Regions from separate parts of the Homo sapiens genome. Here region 1 is linked to region 2. Evidence: promoter capture Hi-C in 16 types of primary human blood cells and fetal thymus (Javierre and others, 2016). All regions are on one chromosome and are shown on one strand. The core of a region is centred on a gene start or on the middle of the fragment in contact, and the rest is flanking DNA. Distances in the headings are between cores, read along the strand shown. Region 1 has its middle 27 kb from the start of TPRG1-AS1. Region 2 holds the start of MASP1 (MBL associated serine protease 1).

Evidence for each region. Contacts are between HindIII fragments. The CHiCAGO score rates a contact against its expected background, and 5 or more counts as called.
Region 1: a contact is called between a fragment that was not itself captured here and the fragment with the promoter of MASP1 in region 2, in 5 of 17 cell types (naive B cells, total CD4 T cells, total B cells and 2 more). The highest score is 10.1, in naive B cells.

Annotation. Positions count from the first base shown.
Region 1 is chr3:188,973,350-188,976,195 of GRCh38, reverse strand. No RefSeq gene overlaps it. Among named protein-coding and RNA genes, the nearest start is that of TPRG1-AS1, 27 kb to the right of the region's middle. The HindIII fragment of the contact is 2,725 bases long and covers 202-2,846 here.
Region 2 is chr3:187,290,277-187,293,088 of GRCh38, reverse strand. MASP1 (MBL associated serine protease 1) reads left to right here and starts at 1,352. Exons shown (of 11, transcript NM_139125.4): 1 at 1,352-1,461. The coding sequence starts at 1,457. It overlaps LOC101929130 (a long non-coding RNA gene), which reads right to left and starts at 1,817. Exons shown (of 2, transcript NR_135551.1): 1 at 1,553-1,817. The HindIII fragment of the contact is 4,632 bases long and covers 1-2,812 here.

The sequences.
Region 1 (2,846 bases), core at 315-2,814, 1.7 Mb before region 2:
TCTTATGTAAATATTTACAAGGAGAGTAAAAAAAGAAAGCGGTTTGGGGAGCCACCAGATGGAATAATACAAGAACAAACTTGAACACAGTCAAAATGGGCTTCACCAACAACAGGCGTCCTCTTAGGAATCTACCATTGCCTGGGGGGGTGAGAAAGGAAGAACAGAGAGTTAAAAGGAAAAGCGGCTTCTGGCAAAGCTTCTCTTGGGACTTATTTCAGCTAATCTCTGAAAACTAGGTTTTCGTTTCTATTAAAATCTTCAAAAACAATTTATAATAAACCCTCTAATAGTATTTATGAGTTAATTCATTATCCGTCACTTTTGCCTCTCTAACCAAGCTCTACTGTTGTCTCCCAAAGATTTTCAAAGATGCTGCTTTGGTGCTCATGGGTGGTTAAGCAGGAGTGAAGCTCTCTCCAGGGTTCTCTTCCCCAAGTCCCAGGCTGGCCCCTTTGCATTTGACTTCTGAGGCAGAAGAGTCTGTTCACGCTGCCGCACATGAGCCTATTATGCATTGTTTCCATTTCTCCGTCTACCTTGAGTAGCCTAATTACAAAGCAAGGAGCAATAACTGATATATCTATTATATGATGTTCTTGCAGCTGCTCTTTACCCTCCCCTCCCATCTCTCTGGGTCCCCTATGTAACCATTTTCTGACTCAGAGCACATTTGAAGCAAACTTGGCTCACAATGCATTTTGCAAATAAACCACAAAATAACATGATTGTAAAAAATGTTAACTGCAAAAGTAATAAATAAGAAACTAAATAAGTACGTAACCACAGAGCCTTGTCTGGCTCCTCGGCTCGCTGACCACAGCAGCTCTCTGTTGTCCGTCCTCACTACGGGACAGAGTGAGAACGCTAAGAAAAGGGGAAGACACACCATCCTCGCCCAGGGGTCTCATAGATGGAAGTTACACATAGATAGATTGTTCTCTCATTGTAAGACAGAAAGTTTTATGTCAGAGCTCCCCAATCTAGACAAGCATTGTCAGAGAAGAGGAGAAGCAGGCTGTTTGTCACCATGGTTTCATGTTCACCTATTGCTTTTGTGAGCACCTAACAGGGGTCTGGCTCTGTGCCTGGAGGCATACACATAGCATCTCATGTCACTCCTTAGCAACCCTCAGATGTGGGTATGATTAGTCCCAGTGCACAGAGGAAGAAACGGAAGTCCACCAAGAATCGAATAGCAGTTAGACCACAATATTTCACAGATGCTGCAAAGACTTTATACAGATGAGAGTGGAAAGAGGAGAGTGCAGCAGAAATACGCTGTGATGTCCTTCTCCCCCACCACCACTTCCAAGCCTGGCTGTTGAGATGTGCCCAGTGTCAAAAGAATTGGGGATTAAAACACCAAAGCCTAAATATCAGACTTGCCAATTATTTTACTTATATTTACTTTGAAACCCTGCCAGTCTAAAGACCGTCTTCACCAGAAGACTTCTGTGGCTGGGAAAAATCTCTCAAGGCAATGACCAGTGTAGTCCAGTCGAAAATGAAATGGGAAATTGAAAGCTAGGCCTGAAGCTGAATAATACAGTGCAAAATTTTCAATTCAGGGTCAGTACACAGTAATATTTTATGCCTCAGGACAGGGCTTAAGTATTAAGGACAGAAAAAGAGTCACTAATGTTTAATACATACAGAGACAGCAGCACGCTAGGCCCTATGGCCAGGACCCCTACATCACAGAACCGTGGAGGACCCTATTCACATTATCAGCTATGAATAGTGTCCCTCCTCCAGGGTCACACAACACACATGACCTGCAGAGCCCAAAACAGGCTTTTCTCAGGGAGATACCAAACACAAAACAAAAACCAGGGAAAACACAGTCTCAAGTCAATTACCAAGCAAGGGAAAGAGAAAGGTCCACATGCAAATGACAACTAGGGGAGGGGGTAGTTATAATTGCTCTGCATGAATTGAGAATGGAACCACTGCCCAGTTTACTAAGCATGCTCACATGCATTCATGCCTTTTTTTTCACAATAGCTCCACGAATAAGGGTTATTATTCTTATTTTCTGAATGGGAAAACAGGGGCTCAGAGAGGGGAAGGGACTTTTCTAAAATTTCCAACTTTTAGGTTGGAAGCCAAGACCCATATCCAAGTAGCCCCTGCCTCAGAGTTTCTCCCACTGCCCCCTCACTGGCACATTGGAAATGCAGAAGAAGAAGCATCAGCAGGAGCTCCGTGCGCCAGACTCCAGAGGGGAGTTGCAGAAAGCCTCAGTCAAGGAAGAAGCAAAAGAAACCTTAGGAGTGGAGGAGGCATAGACGCGATAAGCAGGAGTTTGGATGAGAGTGTATGACATAATGTGATCCACAGAACTTTGGAATTTATTAAAAGTCAAACCAAATTATTTCTTCTCTGATGAGCAGCATTCCAAATACTGAAGGTTTATGGTTTAAATACAAACTCCATTGTAACTCAATTAGGATGGAACTATTTCTAAAATCGATTATGCATTTGTCTATCTTCTAAGACAAAGCATAAAGAAAATAATTTAGCCTTTCACAAGGGGGCACACTGTAGGCTGTCACTTTCTTCACTGCAATATAATATATGATGACATTCTAGAGGACTCTCTAAATTTAAAGCACCTCTTGACTCCACACTCGATCCGGATTGCTGTGATTTTTAAGTGACTGAGGATTCGCGGCAGGGGTTCTGTTTATCTTGTTTTCTGTCTCCTCTCTTCTTATCAAGTCATCAACCTTGTACTTGTCTTCCTTTTTAGTAGGCCTGCCTATTGTAACCCATTCTTCCTCATCAAATGTGCTGTTTTGGGTCTTGTATATATCTATAGGTAGCCAAGTTTATTAACAGTT
Region 2 (2,812 bases), core at 103-2,602:
AATGTTAATGAGTAGCAGTGTAATACAGTGGCTAACACTTCAAATTCTGCCTCTATTACTTTCTAGCTGTGTGAACTTGGGAAAGTTACTTAACCTCTCTGGGCAATTTCCTCTGAAAAATGAGAATATTGCCAGCCATGTATACAACATATAAAGATGACTGAAAAGAATTCATATATTAAGTGCTTAGAGCAGTGCCTGACACGTAGCACTCAATAGCTGTTAGCTTCTAGTGCTAGTGGCAGTGGGGAGTCATAAATAACTGGATGATCTTGGCAAGTGGCATATTCTCTCTGAGCCTTAGTGTCCTCACTTGTAAAATGAGTATAACAGCAGCACTTTCACCAGTTTGCAAAAGTAACTTGAGATGATGTTAATGACTAGTACTGTGTCTAACACAGAAAAGGTGCACAGTCAAACTTAACTTTTACACCCAGATACACCTCTCCCTATTCAGTGTTGGTTGTTGTTGTTGTGGAGGGGGTAATTTTCTTATTATTCAGCTCATCTTAGATCTAGTGTTGATTTCTCCGGAAGCCATGGGTATAGACATATATACAGGCCCAGGTCTTTCTACACCCCTGGGGAGGTGAGATTTCTTGCTGCGATGGGCCCTTTCTGGGCTGGAGTAGAGCCGCACACACTCCGAGCAAGTAAACAGTGCCACAGGTATTGCTCATGGGGAGGAACAACCAGCCAACTTCAGGACTTGGTGCTTCCCCAGTTCCGGGCCCGTGGCTCTGTTCACAGGAAAACCTGTCGTTGTGTGTGACTCTGATCACGAGAAAACCTGTAGTTATTTGGGGCTCTGCTCACAAGGAAACCTGTAGTTATTTGCAGACAGACGCTCTGGGATTTAGACCTTTTTTTTTTCTTCTAGTGTAGGTGCTAGAATTGCCTTCTTAGTTGGTTGTTTCTATTTAATTGCTTTTCTTTCATGGGTGTCCTGAAGAAAAGCAGAAAATTATAGTCATCTGGCAAAAAAGACTAAAGAGAAATTAGACTTTGTCCCCTTTCACTCTCTCTCTCTCTCTCTCTCTACACACACACACACACACACACACACACACACAGAGTGATACAAATACCTGCTTGAGCCCCTCAGTTATTTTCTCTCAAGGGCTGAAGTCAGCCACACAGGATAAAGGAGGGAAGGGAAGGAGCAGATCTTTTCGGTAGGAAGACAGATTTTGTTGTCAGGTTCCTGGGAGTGCAAGAGCAAGTCAAAGGAGAGAGAGAGGAGAGAGGAAAAGCCAGAGGGAGAGAGGGGGAGAGGGGATCTGTTGCAGGCAGGGGAAGGCGTGACCTGAATGGAGAATGCCAGCCAATTCCAGAGACACACAGGGACCTCAGAACAAAGATAAGGCATCACGGACACCACACCGGGCACGAGCTCACAGGCAAGTCAAGCTGGGAGGACCAAGGCCGGGCAGCCGGGAGCACCCAAGGCAGGAAAATGAGGTACGTGCCAGGGGAGGAGAGGGCACGGTTCCCTTTTGGGGACCAGTGTCAAATAGCAGGGAAGGTCTGACCTTGTCACTGACAGACTCACCTGCGTGTCCTGCATGTGGTAGTGAGGGGCTTTCTCATCAATTCTTAGGGCTCTGAGAAGGGAGCTGTGGGTGGGCTGGGTGCCTTCCCCAGGACTCCAGGAGACATAAAACTTGAAACGGGAGACTTCGTGCAAATCCTGCTCCGGACGCTGCTGAAGCTCAGATTTCTCCCACTGCCTGCACAGGGTGCTGCCTGCTGGCGAATGTGACTCTCCTCCTGTTCACCCACAAGGCTGATTTTTCCGTGTTCCTCCTCTGGAAAGAGCATTGCTTTCTCTCTTCCAGCACTTTGTGAGTTAGATATGTGTTTGTGTGTTCATTCCTTCTGACCAGAAAAGAAACCAGCTTCCCATAGCTTGGCTCTGTGGTTTCTTCAACCTTTACAAGTTTGCCAGTTAAACCTCAATTTAGAAAACTAAAAATCTGTCCCCATTTTACAGTTCCCTATAAATTTTCTGCATTTCTCATTGAAATCAGAGGCAGCTGGTGGCATGAATCAGGCTATGAAGTACACCAAATGGCTCTTAAAGAGATATCATACTTAAAAAAAAAAAAAGGATTTTAGAGTTCTGAAATCAAGAACTTCAAATTCTAATTGGTTTTAAACTCTTTAACCTTTCTTATTCCTCATTATACTTGACACTCCTTACCAGACCTTTCATACAAGTTCTATCCTGCAAGTCTGAAAACCCAACCACCCTAGTTATTTTTATTAGTTAAGTGTTAATGCTGTTACACACACACACACACACACACACACACACAATGCTCTGCAGATGTGTAAGTCCCTAAACACATCTTTTACTATTAATTTTCTTTTCACTTGGGAAAGTGTTTTTATTTGTTTCTCTTCTGCAAAGTAACCTAGCAACTTTTCTGGACCTGAGACCAATGAGAGGCTTCAGACTATGTTAACTCTTTGAACTCCGATTACCTGTGGTTCAGAGAGATAACCAGGTCCTTAAAAAGTGAGTGCAATAATTCTGTTCTTCTTAAAGCCATAGTAATTTTAAACCTGCCATTAAACATCATTTTTCTTTCTCCAAAAAAAAGTGATTTATGTCAATCTACATTGAATGATAATCTCATTTATCTGTCAATGATCTGGTCTGAATCCCACCCTACCATTCAGTGCCCCAGCCCATATCAAACTACTTGGCTGAGTAACAATTCTGTATCTTTGCATATGCTCATCCCTCAACCTGGAGCAACCTTCTTCTTTATTTTCCACCTAGAAGACCTGATTGTTCAAGCTGGCA